Linked DNA regions of Homo sapiens: region 2 is linked to region 1. The links are contacts of gene promoters, found by promoter capture Hi-C in human tissues and cell types (Jung and others, 2019). All regions are on one chromosome and are shown on one strand. Each heading gives the region's core, a stretch centred on a gene start or on the middle of the fragment in contact. The rest is flanking DNA. Distances are from core to core; before and after follow the strand shown. Region 1 holds the start of OTUD6A (OTU deubiquitinase 6A). Region 2 has its middle 9.5 kb from the start of EDA.

Region 1 (2,700 bases), core at 95-2,594:
CGCCCGCCTCGGCCTCCCAAAGTGCTGGGATTACAGGCGTGAGCCACCGCGCCCGGCCAATATTTCCATTTTTGTGGTGAAGTTATACGCAACATGACCAAATCTTAGTTGGTGAGGGAGGTAAAAGACCCTTAAGGGCAAGAAGAGGTTAGAACTTTCAAATTTATGCCCCTCTGGTGGTGCAATGCAGAGATTTCCCTCATATTTCCGGGGAATTTCCCTCGAATTTCGTTTCCCACCCTGTGAAAGCAGCAAGGTTAGGAAAGCGGGGGCGGGGCGGGGGCGGGTAGTTTTGATTAAAAGGAAGGAAAAGAAAAACAGAGAAAAGCAAAAGGGGAAAATAAACTGAGCCTACTGAGGAGATGCGGCGACGGCGACAGTTTCCCGGGGCTGCTCAGCGCCTTGGGGCCTACAGGAGACGCGGGAGCACGCCCCCGGCGGCGCCGGCCTCGAGCGGTGTCACGGAGTTGTAGTGCTCGCCGAGGCTGTAGGCATAGCGCAGGTAGACCAGGATGATCGGCTTCTTGACGTACTCCTCCCCGATGATCAAGGTGGGCGAGTCGGCCTGGATCACCTCGATGGGGGTCTTCAGGACGTGCGACAGGGCCCTCAGCTCCAGCTGGCCTCCCCATGCCGTGGTGCGCACGATGTTGTCGCAGTAGATCATGAAGTCGTCGTAGCCGAAGGAGTCGCTGGTCTCGGGGTTGCTGAAGAAGGGCAGGAACTCGTCGACGTGCTTCTTCATGTAGCTGGCGGTGCGGCAGCGCAGCATCTCCACAGACACGCTGAACACCAGCTGGTCTTGGATGGCGCGGTACATGCAGTGGCCGTCGGCCGGGATCGCTTTCATCTCCAGACCCCTGGCTCCCAGGATGGCGGCGAGCTTCTCCTCCTCCTCGCGCTTGAAGCCGGCCAGGTGCTCCGACATCTCAGCCTGGAAGATGCTCTCCTGGCGCTCCCTCTCCTCGGACTCCATTCTTTCTCTCTTTCTGTGGGCTTTGGAGGAGCGGGGAGGCCGGTTTTCCAGATTCATCTTGGCCAGGTCTTCGACGACAGATTCAATGCTACTGTCGTCTTGGAACTTCTCCAGCTCCTGCCGGTGCTTCTGAGCCATCTCGGCCTCCATGCGGGCCACGTCTTGGAGCAACTGCTTTCTTTTCGTCTTGTCGGTCTTGGGGACCGAGTTTTTTAAGCTCCGGATCTGGGCCTGCAGCTCCTGCCTCTCGCGTTGGTGGCGGCGCAGTATGCGCTGCTGTTCACTCTTCGGATCATCCATGATGTTGAATGGCAAGCGGGAGTTGAAATTTGCTGGCAGTTCAAGTACCGAACAGACCAGAAGTCCTCAGCCTGTCCTAACGGTCGCTCTCTTTCACCTCACCGGCTCTAACCGCCGCTCTAGGCTCACCTCAGCCTCCGCTTCCCCTCCCCCATTCGCATTCTTCTCTGCCTTTGGTCACTGTGTCTCCATGGCCACGCCCCCGCAAGTGCTAGGCCACTTGCTGGGCCACCCGCAAATGCCCAGTGCTAGGATTGGCTGTTGGGAGACCGGAAGTATGAGCCCATTGGACCCCACAGCAAAGGTTTTTGGCGGGATTCAAATATGGCCTTCCTGCAATGTGTGTGGCAGTTGGGCCTGTAGAGTCTTTCGCTGATTGAGAGCCGACTTCATTTCCAAGTCTGCACACAATGCAGGCAGTAGCCATGCCTGACAGCCACATGACAGATACTACACCGCTGAATGTGCTCTAACCCTGGACTTGGCATTGCCCCTACTGTTGAGGAAGCAGTGCGTTTTTCTCCAGTCTTTCAGGTCCCTTCACCAGGGAACCATTAACTTGTGCATCAGAACAAGGACATTTCCTTACATTCCTGCAAACACAGTCCTTTCAGTTTACTCTTTTTTTGAGGGGGGGGCGCGGGGAACGGAGTCTCGCTCTGTCGCCCAGGCTGGAGTGCAATGGTGCAATCTCAGCTCACTGCAACCTCTGCCTCCCAGGTCCAAGCGATTCTCCTGCCTCAGCCTCCCGGGTAGCCGGGACTACAGGCGCCTGCCACCACGCCCGGCTAATTTTTGTATTTTTAGTAGAGACGAGGTTTCGCCGTGTTGGCCAGGCTGGTCTTGGAACTCCTGACCTCAGGTGATTTACTCGCCTCGGCCTCCCAAAGTGCTGGCATGAGCCACTGTGCCCAGTCACAAGTTTTTATTTTAGCCATTTTGATAAGTGTGAAGTTCCCTGATGGCTAATGATGTTCCTTTTTTCATGTGCTCATTTGTCATCTATGCCATATCCTTTTCAGTAAAATGTTTATGTCATTTGCCTATTTTCTCTCTCTTTTTTTTGGGGGGGGTGGAGTCTAGCTCTGTCACCGAGGGTGGAATGCAGTGGCGTGATCATGGCTCATTGCAGCCTCAAACTCCTGGGCTCAGGCTCAGGTGATCCTCCTGCCTCAACATCCTGAGTAGCTGGGACTACAGGCACCACCATACTTGGCTAATTTTGGGGAATTTTTTTTTTTTTTTTTTTTTTGCCAGATGCGGTGGCTCACGCCTGTAATCCCAGCACTTTGGGAGGCCAAGGTGGGAGGATGTCTTGAGGTCAGGAGTTCCAGACCAGCCTGGGCAACATGGTGAAGCCCTAACTCTACTAGAAATACAAAAATTAGCCAGGTGTGGTGGTGTGTGCCTGTAGTCCCAACTAC
Region 2 (2,902 bases), core at 335-2,834, 460 kb after region 1:
CATCAGGACCACAGTGGAGATTGCAGATTCAGTTCTGGCAAAGTAGGACTTTAAGAGAATCACTGGAATTGTTTTTTACAGGTTCTGACATCCTCCAAACAACTATGTGTGGTAGGTAGAGTGGCCATTTGACATCATTTAATGGGAGGAAACTGAAGCTCAGAGAGGTGACTACTTGAATGACTTATCCAAGGTTACACAGTCAGTGTACCTGACTCAGCCTAGGGTTCTTTTTCTTACTAAACCTGTCATATTTACTCATTACACTTATATTTGCCTGCTCCATCTGGCCAAAGAGCTTATTGTGCCCACAGTCTGCATTTCTTGGTCATGAGAATTAGAGAACAGATCTTAGGGATCTGAGCCCTGGAGAGTAAGGCTCTCTAGGATCCAATCTTGGTTCTGTGATAAGCAACCTGTGACAGGGCTTGGAAAAATCTAGAGTTATAATAACTTTCCCAAAATGACTCCAGCTGCCCACAACTAGATTACATTCAGGTAATACACTTAACTTTGGATATTTTATATAGCATATTTATTCAGTAAGCATTCATAGAGTATCTGCTATGTGCCGGGCACCAGTCTAAGTGCTGGGAATACATTTGTGGACAAAACAAAGAATTAATACAATTAATGTACAATAAGAACATTTTTATTTGGAAAATAGGGACTCTATTTCACAAATTCAGTATAGCAGCAAAGCTTTTAAATGGCCTTGTCCCTCCTCCCACTACACCTCTGAGCTGGACCAGATTCACAGGCACACTCTTATAATTTGGGAAATGCCATGTCCTAACAGTTTTAGAGTCTTCAAACATTGCACAAAAAAATGTGAATCACCCCAATTCGAAAGCTTTCCTTTAAACAACTCAGAGAACTAGCAGTCCTGGGCTAAGAAATGCTAAATTAATAGCCTATTGGAATTTAAGCACGCTTCTAAGCTGCTTAACACTTGATGAGTAAAAATCCAGGAATGGACGCTACAGGGTAACAGTCTGGCTCCTGGAAGGATGGGAATCATGGAAGCCTAGGTCCAAGGTGAGCAGTTGGTGTATGAAGATGAGCTCCAAGTTGATCTTCAGTCTTATGATATCAATGTGTATATATATATATATAGAATATATATAGAATATATATATATTCTGTTAATAAATAATGATGCTAGAATTAGGATGAGTAAAAGAAAGTATGGTAGAATTTGTAAAATATAAAATGCTATACAAATGTAAGATATTAAGATAATAGCTACCTCGTATTGAGTACCTACTATGTGCCAGGCACTATGTTTGGCAAAGTTACATATGTTTATCTCATTTGATCTTCAGGAACAACCTTACAAGATAAATTGCTCATTTTCCTACATGTAAAAAAAAAGACAGGCCCAGAGAAAAGTGAAGTACTGTGTCTGATGTCCCCCAGCTGGTAGATGTAGTGCTAAGATTCAAATCCAAATCTGTCCTGATTGAAAAGCCCACATTCTTTTCATTATGCCATGCTGAACAATTTATTTTGCATACTCAGAAACCTAAGGAATAAGGAGTTTTCTGTAATTTTAAAGTTAGAATCTAATAGATACTAGATGGCGGTACCTTTTCCTCATTCCAATATGATCTTACCGTCCAATGGGAAGGTATGATACTGCAGCCAAGTCAAATTAGATCTCGAAAAATCACAAAACTGAAGCAGAAAATTGCAGCAGTAGAAAATGGAGACCCAAGAAATTACGTGAGGTAGAGCCAAGGAGAAAATAGTGGGGTACCTGCTAGCAGAGGGGGTTTGCAAAGTGCTACTACAAAATAACAGTTTCAGCAAAAAATTCCCAGAGGGTTTTATATTGATTCTTTCACTTGCCCATTCATTACTTCATTTATACATCCATCCACTTCTCAAAGAGTTTTTTGAGCACTGGCTATAGGCACTCACAGCTCACAGAACTTCAGTGAACTGTGTGAACTAATAAATGAATACCCAGGAGGCCAAATCCAGCATGTCATAGACCTACAGCAGTCTTGACCACTATCTTAACCCTTTTTATCATACAAGTTCAGTTCAGTCAGCTTAGGGATTTTGTTTTCCTATTGTGACCTATCTTCGATTAACACTGGGAATACAGACTTTGCTTGACTGAAATGTGCTTTACAGCAATGGCTACTGAAGAATAAGCTTCCACAAACTGACTCCTTTGTGAAAAGACTAGAAACTAAGCTTTCTGTAGCAACAGAAAGCAGGACCCACAGAAGCAGGAGTTGAGACACCAAGCCCATGCCTGCGGGAAGGAAGTTGCCCTTAGGAATGTGCCAAATTGCTTGAGAAAGGAGAGTGCCTGCTGAGAGGGAAGGAGATGGGAGCCCCGAGAAATTATATGACCTAAGCGTCACTACTACCCACCAGATCTTGGGCTCCTGGGCCCAAAGGCCTTAGGTCTGCAGTACTAGGTGTGACAACCCAAGTTTAGCGAGTTCTACTTTAACCCCCAGAGTTCCAAAACTCACATGCTTTTTTTTCCCTCAGCTTTTATACATAACTCAAGAGGTCAGAACTGGAAGACCCTCAGGAGGCCACCGAGTCCAGTCCAACCTATTTCAAAAGAAGAAACTGAAGCCTAGAAGGGCCAAGAATCATGCCCATTAAGTTAATGAATGAGCTGGACTAGAACCAATTGCTCCTCCCTCTACCCTCAAGCTACTACCTTACATATCTGTACCTGACACTCTTAAGGCATTTTCAAAACACATGAATTACTTTCATTTTACTTCTGCTGAGCTAAAAGCATGAAACAGGAAATCAACTAGAAATCACTGGCTTAGCTTCTGATTCCTAGTCCTCATTCCCTACCAGTCTCTAATAATTTTCCTGGTTTGTACTTTGCCTTGAGGTATTCCTCCATTTTATCCAGCCTCAT

What was found. Contacts are between HindIII fragments. The study calls those that stand out against the background at their distance.
Region 2: a contact is called between a fragment that was not itself captured here and the fragment with the promoter of OTUD6A in region 1, in 2 of the 25 tissues and cell types used here (mesendoderm cells and thymus).

What each region holds. Positions count from the first base shown.
Region 1 is chrX:70,061,101-70,063,800 of GRCh38, reverse strand. OTUD6A (OTU deubiquitinase 6A) reads right to left here and starts at 1,344. Exons shown (of 1, transcript NM_207320.3): 1 at 1-1,344. The coding sequence starts at 1,276. The coding sequence ends at 410. The HindIII fragment of the contact is 14,829 bases long and covers 1-2,700 here.
Region 2 is chrX:69,605,116-69,608,017 of GRCh38, reverse strand. No RefSeq gene overlaps it. Among named protein-coding and RNA genes, the nearest start is that of EDA, 9.5 kb to the left of the region's middle. The HindIII fragment of the contact is 5,616 bases long and covers 1-2,902 here.